3 separate regions of the Homo sapiens genome follow, and all the other regions are linked to region 1. Evidence: promoter capture Hi-C in 16 types of primary human blood cells and fetal thymus (Javierre and others, 2016). All regions are on one chromosome and are shown on one strand. Each heading gives the region's core, a stretch centred on a gene start or on the middle of the fragment in contact. The rest is flanking DNA. Distances are from core to core; before and after follow the strand shown.

Evidence for each region. Contacts are between HindIII fragments. The CHiCAGO score rates a contact against its expected background, and 5 or more counts as called.
Region 2: a fragment that was not itself captured here is called in contact with the fragment with the promoter of MBIP in region 1 in 4 of 17 cell types (total CD4 T cells, total CD8 T cells, non-activated CD4 T cells and 1 more); the score reaches 14.0 in total CD4 T cells.
Region 3: a fragment that was not itself captured here is called in contact with the fragment with the promoter of MBIP in region 1 in 1 of 17 cell types (naive CD8 T cells); the score reaches 5.2 in naive CD8 T cells.

What each region holds. Positions count from the first base shown.
Region 1 is chr14:36,319,205-36,321,904 of GRCh38, reverse strand. MBIP (MAP3K12 binding inhibitory protein 1) reads left to right here and starts at 1,268. Exons shown (of 9, transcript NM_016586.3): 1 at 1,268-1,445. The coding sequence starts at 1,317. RefSeq lists enhancers at 870-919, 1,320-1,579. The HindIII fragment of the contact is 840 bases long and covers 903-1,742 here.
Region 2 is chr14:30,617,493-30,620,192 of GRCh38, reverse strand. G2E3 (G2/M-phase specific E3 ubiquitin protein ligase) reads right to left here. Exons shown (of 15, transcript NM_017769.5): 15 at 129-2,700. Among named protein-coding and RNA genes, the nearest start is that of SCFD1, 3.5 kb to the left of the region's middle. The HindIII fragment of the contact is 4,510 bases long and covers 1-2,700 here.
Region 3 is chr14:45,148,758-45,151,457 of GRCh38, reverse strand. It overlaps FANCM (FA complementation group M), which reads right to left. Exons shown (of 23, transcript NM_020937.4): 4 at 2,463-2,621; 5 at 1-61. Among named protein-coding and RNA genes, the nearest start is that of FANCM, 14 kb to the right of the region's middle. The HindIII fragment of the contact is 2,426 bases long and covers 93-2,518 here.

The DNA of each region.
Region 1 (2,700 bases), core at 19-2,518:
CTGTAGAAATAGGCTGGAATGTCAGTTGTATATCTTGCTGCCAACAAGGGAACAGAAAAGATTTCCCAAGATTCTGTCAAGCCTGGTGATCCCATTTGTCTTTGGAAATGAAAGCCTAATTAAGAGACTCCCTAGGGACAGGTCAAAGGAGTTTTTATCCCCATCGTCCTTATCTTAGTTCCTTGATGCATTAGTCCTTCCCTTTAATTTAGTCTACCCTAAAACTAAAGAATACACATTGTGCAAGTTTCCACCTTTGCTTTCTCTACTGTAAATGCATTAGACTATTAACAGAATTACGAGTTTTAAATCCCACCTTCCTTATCTCTAAGCTGATGTTGATTTCTTAAAGTGTTTTTGAATAAAGCTTAACACTAAAAATTATTGTAATACTTTAATTGGATAACACTTTTTAAAAATATCGGAGTCTGACTAAAAGATTACAAAACCCCACAAACATCGTTATAATAAAGCTATTATGATAAATAATACTTTGTAAAATTTGAATTCGGTTTTATGTCCTAATTTCAAAGATTGTGGTTGCATGATATTATTTATCCAGGTTAAATTCCTGTTGGAATTATATTGACAGTGTTTCATTTCTTTGAAACAATTTTAGGGTTAAGCGTCTCTACAGTTAAAACAGAGAATATCAACTGTAGTCCCAGTTACTCAGGAGGCTGAGGCAGGAGAACCGCTTGAACCTGGGAGGCGGAGGTTGCAGTGAGCCGAGGTAGTGCCACTGCACTCCAGTCTGGGCGACAGAGTGAGACTCTGTCTCCAAAACAACAACAACAAACTTGAAGAGATGAAAATGTTCTATCCAATCATGATAATTCCGTGTGAGTTTTCCAATGTTTAGAAACACGTGTGGGCACCACTCCATCCCTGACCAGCAAGCTTCCTCCAGACCCACTCCACACCGCCATGTTAAAATGTCAACTTTTACTTTTTGGACTCAAACTACAAAATTTAACTATGTCTCCTCTTACCAAGATTCACAATGAACACCTAGGAGTCAAGGTAGGCTTCATAACGCTAAAGAGACCACGACTCTAATGACCACCCCAAACACAGCATTCCAGCCTAGCTGTGGTCTGCAATTACCCACTTCAGAGCCTCGGCGCAATGTCACAGCTGCAACTGATTGGTGTAACGTGCTTGTCATTCACATAGAGAGGGTGGGGCCTCAAAGCCCGATCTAAACCAGACTCCGTGTCTTACGTCATCGCCAAGCGACTAAAGCTGGAAGGGAGGGGGCGGGGTTGTGAGCAAATCTTGGTGGTGGTGGTGGTGGGGCGGCCTGAGAAGATATCATGGCTGCTGCCACGGAGCTTAATCGCCCGAGCAGCGGTGACAGGAACCTGGAGCGAAGATGCAGACCCAACCTCTCCCGAGAGGTGCTCTACGAAATCTTTCGCTCCCTACACACCCTGGTTGGACAGGTGAGAGGTGGCCTGAGGGACTGGGAATATGGAAACCATCCGGTCCCTCCTCGCCATTCTTTTTCTCTAGCAGAGGCCGGGGGCAGCTAGGCCTGCAGAGGTGTGGGATGCGGTCCCGAAGCCGAGGTGTGGAAGGAGCCCGGGCCCAGCCTCCTCGGTCGGAGTGAGGAGGACGGCGGTACCGGTTGCAGAGTCGTTTACCTTGCAGCTGTCCTCCCCAAGAGTGGGTGAGGTTGGCCTAAGTGAAAACCCGGCTCCGAGAGAGGCAGGCTTGGAGAGAATGAATGTGGAAAAGCTTCACTGCGAGTTTAGGAGGCGCTTAGCGTTCAGGGTCCTTTTTCCTCCAACTTACTCTTTATGGGAATTGGTTGGTCAGTAGGCCTGAGATTTATAGAAAAGCGCGCGCTTATTAGCTTTTTTTGGTGGGGGAGGGAGTAATTTGTTCTTATGAGTTACTTGGTTTTGTTTATTTCTTTTTTCCTTCGGGCTGTTTTGCGCATCTATAATCCTTTCAAATGGGGAGAAAAGTAAAAGGAATTCATTTAAAATACTTCTAGCGTAAAATGCTGTTGGCGTTAGAACTGTCGTTATTTAACTATTAACTAGTTTAACTGGCTGATAAATCGCTTTTGCAGAAATGTCATAGTAAAATTGGTTTTAAATTGAAATGGGCTTCTTCGATCAAGTCACTGTTTCGTTTCATGGTGTAAAATTCAAGTTTTAAATGAGAAACAATTTAAAAGTATGCTTGTTTACCTGCCTTTTAAAAGGAAATATTTTCTATCTTACATAGACCATTTTCTAGCCGTAAAAGTTTGTTTTGGGGCTGGTACTAGCGCAAGTGGACAAAGCAGGCATTTGTGTCAAAGATAATGGTAAATTCCTATGAAAATAGAACATTTGTCTGATTTGTGAAAATTATTTTTAAAGCCTTGAGTAGATGGAGAATCAGTCTTTTAAGAAGTTACTATTTTTAAAAATCGTAGTATGTTGTGTCTTACAAAGAACATTACTGTAAGTTAAACGGTTTTATGAAATGACGCAGTTATTAATGGAGTCTGCTTAAAGATATAACTTTTAAATTCAGTTGTTTGCCAAGTACTTACCAAAAACATTTTTTAAAGACTTGGGGTGTTTTGTTATTAACATTCCATTCTTAAGACCCAAGACGTTTAAATGGTTTAAAAGTTAGAGAACTTTTTATGGCGACGTTGGAACTTAAGTTTATTTATTTTATAATGTCAAGATGAAAAAA
Region 2 (2,700 bases), core at 132-2,631, 5.7 Mb after region 1:
AAATAGCCCTTGTAAGGCTGAGACTGAATAAGGTATTTGTTTTATTAGAATCAGAAAGACTGAAAATAATCTATGGCTACAGATTGTTCATTAACCTAATTTACTATAGCCATTTATCTGAGTCCAGATTTTTGGCTTAAATAATTTATTCTGGTAAGCTATTTTACATTAGAGGATACATAGTTTTAACACAGATTCCCTCATTTCTATAGGTTCCTGGGTGTCAGACACTAACTGCTTGCTTATAGGATCTCTCAAATGTGGAGAGTAAAGGAATCTTGTATCTTTCAGTTTCGTCAGAATCTTAATCTTATTAAATCCCAAAAAATTACTTAGTTTAAATAGGCAGTTTACCTTTAGTGGCATAAACACATTTATTTATTTATAAAACATTGTTATAAATGTCACGCTTTTTGGTTAATCTGGCAGTCTTTAAAAGGGGGGGAAATAGGCTGACATATAAACGATCACCTAGCATAATACCTGGCATAGTGTAGGTACTGGGATATGTTTATGAATTAGAAGAGATAATGGTCAAAATCAGAACTTGAAAACTGAGTCTCTTCAAGACAATCCAAATTTTCCTAAACCACAGATAATATACATTCAAGTAATTCATCATTAAATGGGTTATGTTTTGTATTGCATTACTTGAAGCATGAAACTTTGTATTGCATTACTTGAACCATAAAAACTAGTTTAATAGCTTATTTTAAAGTAACAATGCAGTACATGATAATCACTATATAAAAGAATTACATGTTTATAATGTAATGATTTTGTTCTGATCATTTTCTTATAATGACTGAATGCTAAAGGCACAGTCACTGAAAAAACTTACCTAATATACTCCCCTTGACTTAGTATTTAGCACTGAATACAAAAGTTCCAATAGCTTCCATATAATTAGGGGAAAAATTTACAAATGCATAAAATAGAAACCAAGGTGAATTCTCATGCTGGTAATCAATCAAAGGCTTTTTACTTAACCCAAACAAAAAAAGTCACTTCCTCAAATTACAGAAACTAAAAATTACAAAGTATAAAATTGTAAGTTTCTGGTGAGATATTTTAAAGAATATCTTGAATAGTAGAGAATTGTATAAAAGGTGTTAAAGTTTCCATATTGGAAAGTGTTTAAAAACAATGAATATCAAACTAACCAAAACCATTAACAGTAGATGCATTATAGATCAATTTATAGTTTTCCTCAACATTAAGAGCAAGAGAAAACAGCCTTAAAATATACAACATTTAGGCAATTGCAATATTTAAGAAATATATGTACACATTTATAAAGATTTATAGCATAATTCTTTTTTAAAATCTAATGTAAGAATTATGCACTGGTTATAAAATTAATAAGAAAAGAACAATTATAATACCAACCATTTGACAAAATGACACTGCAGAAAATAAATAACCTACAGGTTTCTCTGATATTCCTTGACCATACAGATTAATCTAAAAATGGTAATAATGGAACATCCTTCAAACTAGAAAACATTTTGCAAAATAAATATTTATGCTTCACTTTAAAACATGAATATCCTAAATTATTTACACCATCTTATCACTAAGGCCCTGTCTATATATAAAATAAGTCAAATGAGGAATTGAAATACTGTTTTTAATTGTAGCTAACCCAAGTACACTGCCTCTCCACCTGCCACCCCCACCCCAACAAAGTATGTGTGTGTGACTTAATCAGCTTTAATTTCTACCCTAGGGGAAATTAATTGCAACTAAAAACCAGAAAATAGCTTTAACTAGGTTTTATTGGTTTGTATTGGTTTTTAGCTGTAATAAAAATAAGGTGGATAAAGAAACAAATATCTTTTTATCAACATATTTGGAATAAAAACTGTATGGTGACTTTGGGGTTTATATTAGCTATTCAAACTCTTTGATAATTGATCTTTCAATTACTATTGGTGAGACAAAAAAATTCAACCAAAGCCAAAGAAATGTCTTGTTTAATGTTCTTAAATATTTCAAGTTAAAGTAAAACAAATTTGCTAGGTATGTTAGTGTACAGATTGAAAAAGACATGAGGGAACAAAGAAAAGTACACTAGAATTATGTTTTAGTTTTCCTTTGGTATTAAGAGATATATTATCTCTTTCAAATCTATTCTGTTACTTAAAAAATATCAATAATGTAATGATTTTTCTTAAGAAGGGTGAGAATACAACAGCTGACACCTGCTTTGTGTATTAAGAAAAATATGGTTAAAACATTTTACTTCCCATAATGATTTACTTTCATGGAAAACTGAACCATTATATCATTTAAATATGTTAATAGATTAAGGACATCAGACTTTGTTTTCCAATTTTTTCTTCTGTGGGAGTATAAATATGGGGACATGACTATGGGACTATATATTTTCACATTGTTAGCACTTTGTTAGTACAGTTACTTTTAGGTATTGTCTTTTAGTAGCATTATTAAAGTTAAAAAATAAAGGAAACAGAAGTAAAGAGTTTATAGAAGGATACACAGAAATACGGTACTTATCTCTGAGTGGTGACATTAGAATGGGTTTTTCATTCTATCCTTTTTACTTTATTTATACATTGCTTATATAACAGATATCATTCAAGAGCAATGAAGATAACTGTATAATGCTATGGCGTCAACTTACCTTAGCATACAACCAACTTGATAATAAATAATGGTCAAATGGCCAAACCTACC
Region 3 (2,700 bases), core at 56-2,555, 8.8 Mb before region 1:
GGATATCCCTTCTCATCAAAACATTCCTCTGAATCAAAGAACGAGCAAATGATTCCAAAATCTGCAAATTTAAAAGCAATCTAGTTTAAGCTTGCTCTAAAGTCCTTTTTCAAGTACAATCATTTTCTCACATATTAAAATAGGAATTATATATTTAATAAAGTTTGTCTTACAATGAATGTTTAAGTAAACTCAGCAATGATAACATTTAAAACTACTTGACATCTATCCCCAAATAATATCCATATAAAAATCAACATAAGCAATTATTATATACAACTGTAATTTAACAACACATTCGTTTATCTGTTTATTTCTTAACTCCTCTCTCTCTCAACCTACACACACTATAATCTAAGTGTAAGTACCATGAACGAAGACCTTTGATTTCTGCACTGTTACATCCTCAGTATCTAGACCAGTTTGGCACTTAGGTCCTCAGCAGATATTTGTAGAGTAGTTTGTAAAGTACTGAATAAATTGAAATGTCCTGAATATATTTAATTTTACTCACTGATGCATTTTTTTCAACAAATATTTATTAACCATCTACTATGTAACAGGCACTGTTCTAAATGCTGGGGATAGTGTGGCTAAGACTTTATTTGTCACTGCTCTCATATAGTTTACATTCCAATGGAGGGAACCGAAGAATAAAGAAGCGAACAAAGAAAGTAGATCATTTTCATTATAACAAATGCATTTAAGAATCTAAAACACAATAATGCTGTAGAGTCTTTGAGAGGAAAGGGATCATTATTAAATAAGGTGAACAAAGACTCTCTTTGAGAAGAGAACATTTGAGTTCACATGTGAATGATAAGGTATGTCTACCATGTGAGGTTCTAAGGACAAAGGATTCCAGAGAGAGGAGACAGCAAACAAAAAGTCCTGAGGCGGAAATGAGCTTAATGGCACAAAAGGAGACCTATAGATGAAGACCTACTACCGCAGTATGTAAGTGTTTAAATTTTTGCCTAATTTGTATTTTCTAAATTATGGCTAGTTTAATACATTTTTTTTCCTCCCTTCCAACTTTGCTGATCATACTGCCTAATAAGGCACTCTAAAAATACTAACAAAATTAAATTACATTTGTATATGATTATAAGAATTATCATATTTACATTGTTATAAATGGAATGATTTTCAATTAAAAATGCACTAGTATCAAAGAGACAATTACAAAAAGACTTTGCCATATCTTAACTCAATAATGCTTAGAATTTTGTTACAAACAATTTAAAAACAAAAAAGCTGTATTACTACAAAATGTCTCTTTAAGAAAGGCTTACTATAGATTAAGTGACAGATAACTTTTTGGTTATCTATTTCTGTAACCATCTTTAATCCATGGCAATGAAAATGTGAAACCATGTTGTTCAACCATGACACTAATTATGAACTACAGAAAAACAATGTGTTACCACAAATTTCTCCCAGTGAAAATGACAATTGTCTAAGCAGGTCCTTAACAGCTATAATATTGACATTTGAGCCAGATAATTCTTTGTTGTGGGGTTGCTGTCCTATCCATTGTAGGATGTTTAGCTGATTCCTGGCCTCCATATACTAGATGCCAATAATAACTCCACATTTCACCTGTTACCTCCCCCTTCTCTCCTGCCTTTTTGTTGTTGTTGTTGTTGTTGTAAGAACCAAAAATGTGTCAAGTCATTGCCAAATGTTGCCAGGTAGGTGAAGTAATTTCCAGATGAAAAGCACTGCTGCATAAAGATCAGGGAGGACAACAGTGAAAATATATTTCAATACAAAGAAACTTCTGGGGGCCGGGCGCATGGTGGCTTACACCTGTAATCCCAGCACTTTGGGAGGTCGGGGCAGGAAAATCACTTGAGGTCAGGAGTTCAAGACCAGCTTGGCCAACAAGGTGAAACCTCGTCTCTATTCAAAAATATAAAAATTAGCCAGATGTGGTAGCATGTGCCTGTAATCCCAGCTACTTGGGAGGCTAAGGAGAACTGCTTGAACCAGGGAGGTGGAAGCTGCAGTGAGCTGAACAAAAAACAACAAAAAGAAAACAAAGAAACTTCTGGCTGAATCTCAGTACGTGTTCATGTTACGGGTGTGTGCAATTTGTGAAAATTCACTGAGCAATACACTTATGCTTTGTCTACTTTTGCTGTTTGTGTGTGTGTGTGTGTGTGTGTGCATGTTCTATATTCCAGTTATAAGGTTTACTTAAAAAAATACAAAACCATGTAAGGCTATTATTTGCTTTACAAATGGCCCATCTTTTGTATTTTCCCTTTCAATAACAGTTTGCTAGTACATACAAAACACAGTGCTCATTCCAAAAATTTTAACTTCAAAGAATTTTTTCAACATATCAATTATATAAAAATAAGATAACTATATTATCACATCCAAATCCTGTTAGCTGAAATAATTCAATTACCAGTTTATTTATGAAATCCCTAAATGTCATAAAAATGGTTTACCTGGATATAGGTCTTTTGGATGGCTGCAAGTTCTTCACCAAGCGGAACAATAAGCTTTTCAACTTTTCTTTCATGAGAATATGTCAAAATATCTGGAGAATCTTCAGAACGAAGCTCTATCTGCCCAATTAGCAGGTTAGTAATAACTTGTTGCACAGCCTATATGAAATCAATTAAGTATGATTATAAACTACATGTTAAAATTTTTTAGTTTAAGTCACTAACAGAAATAAAATAG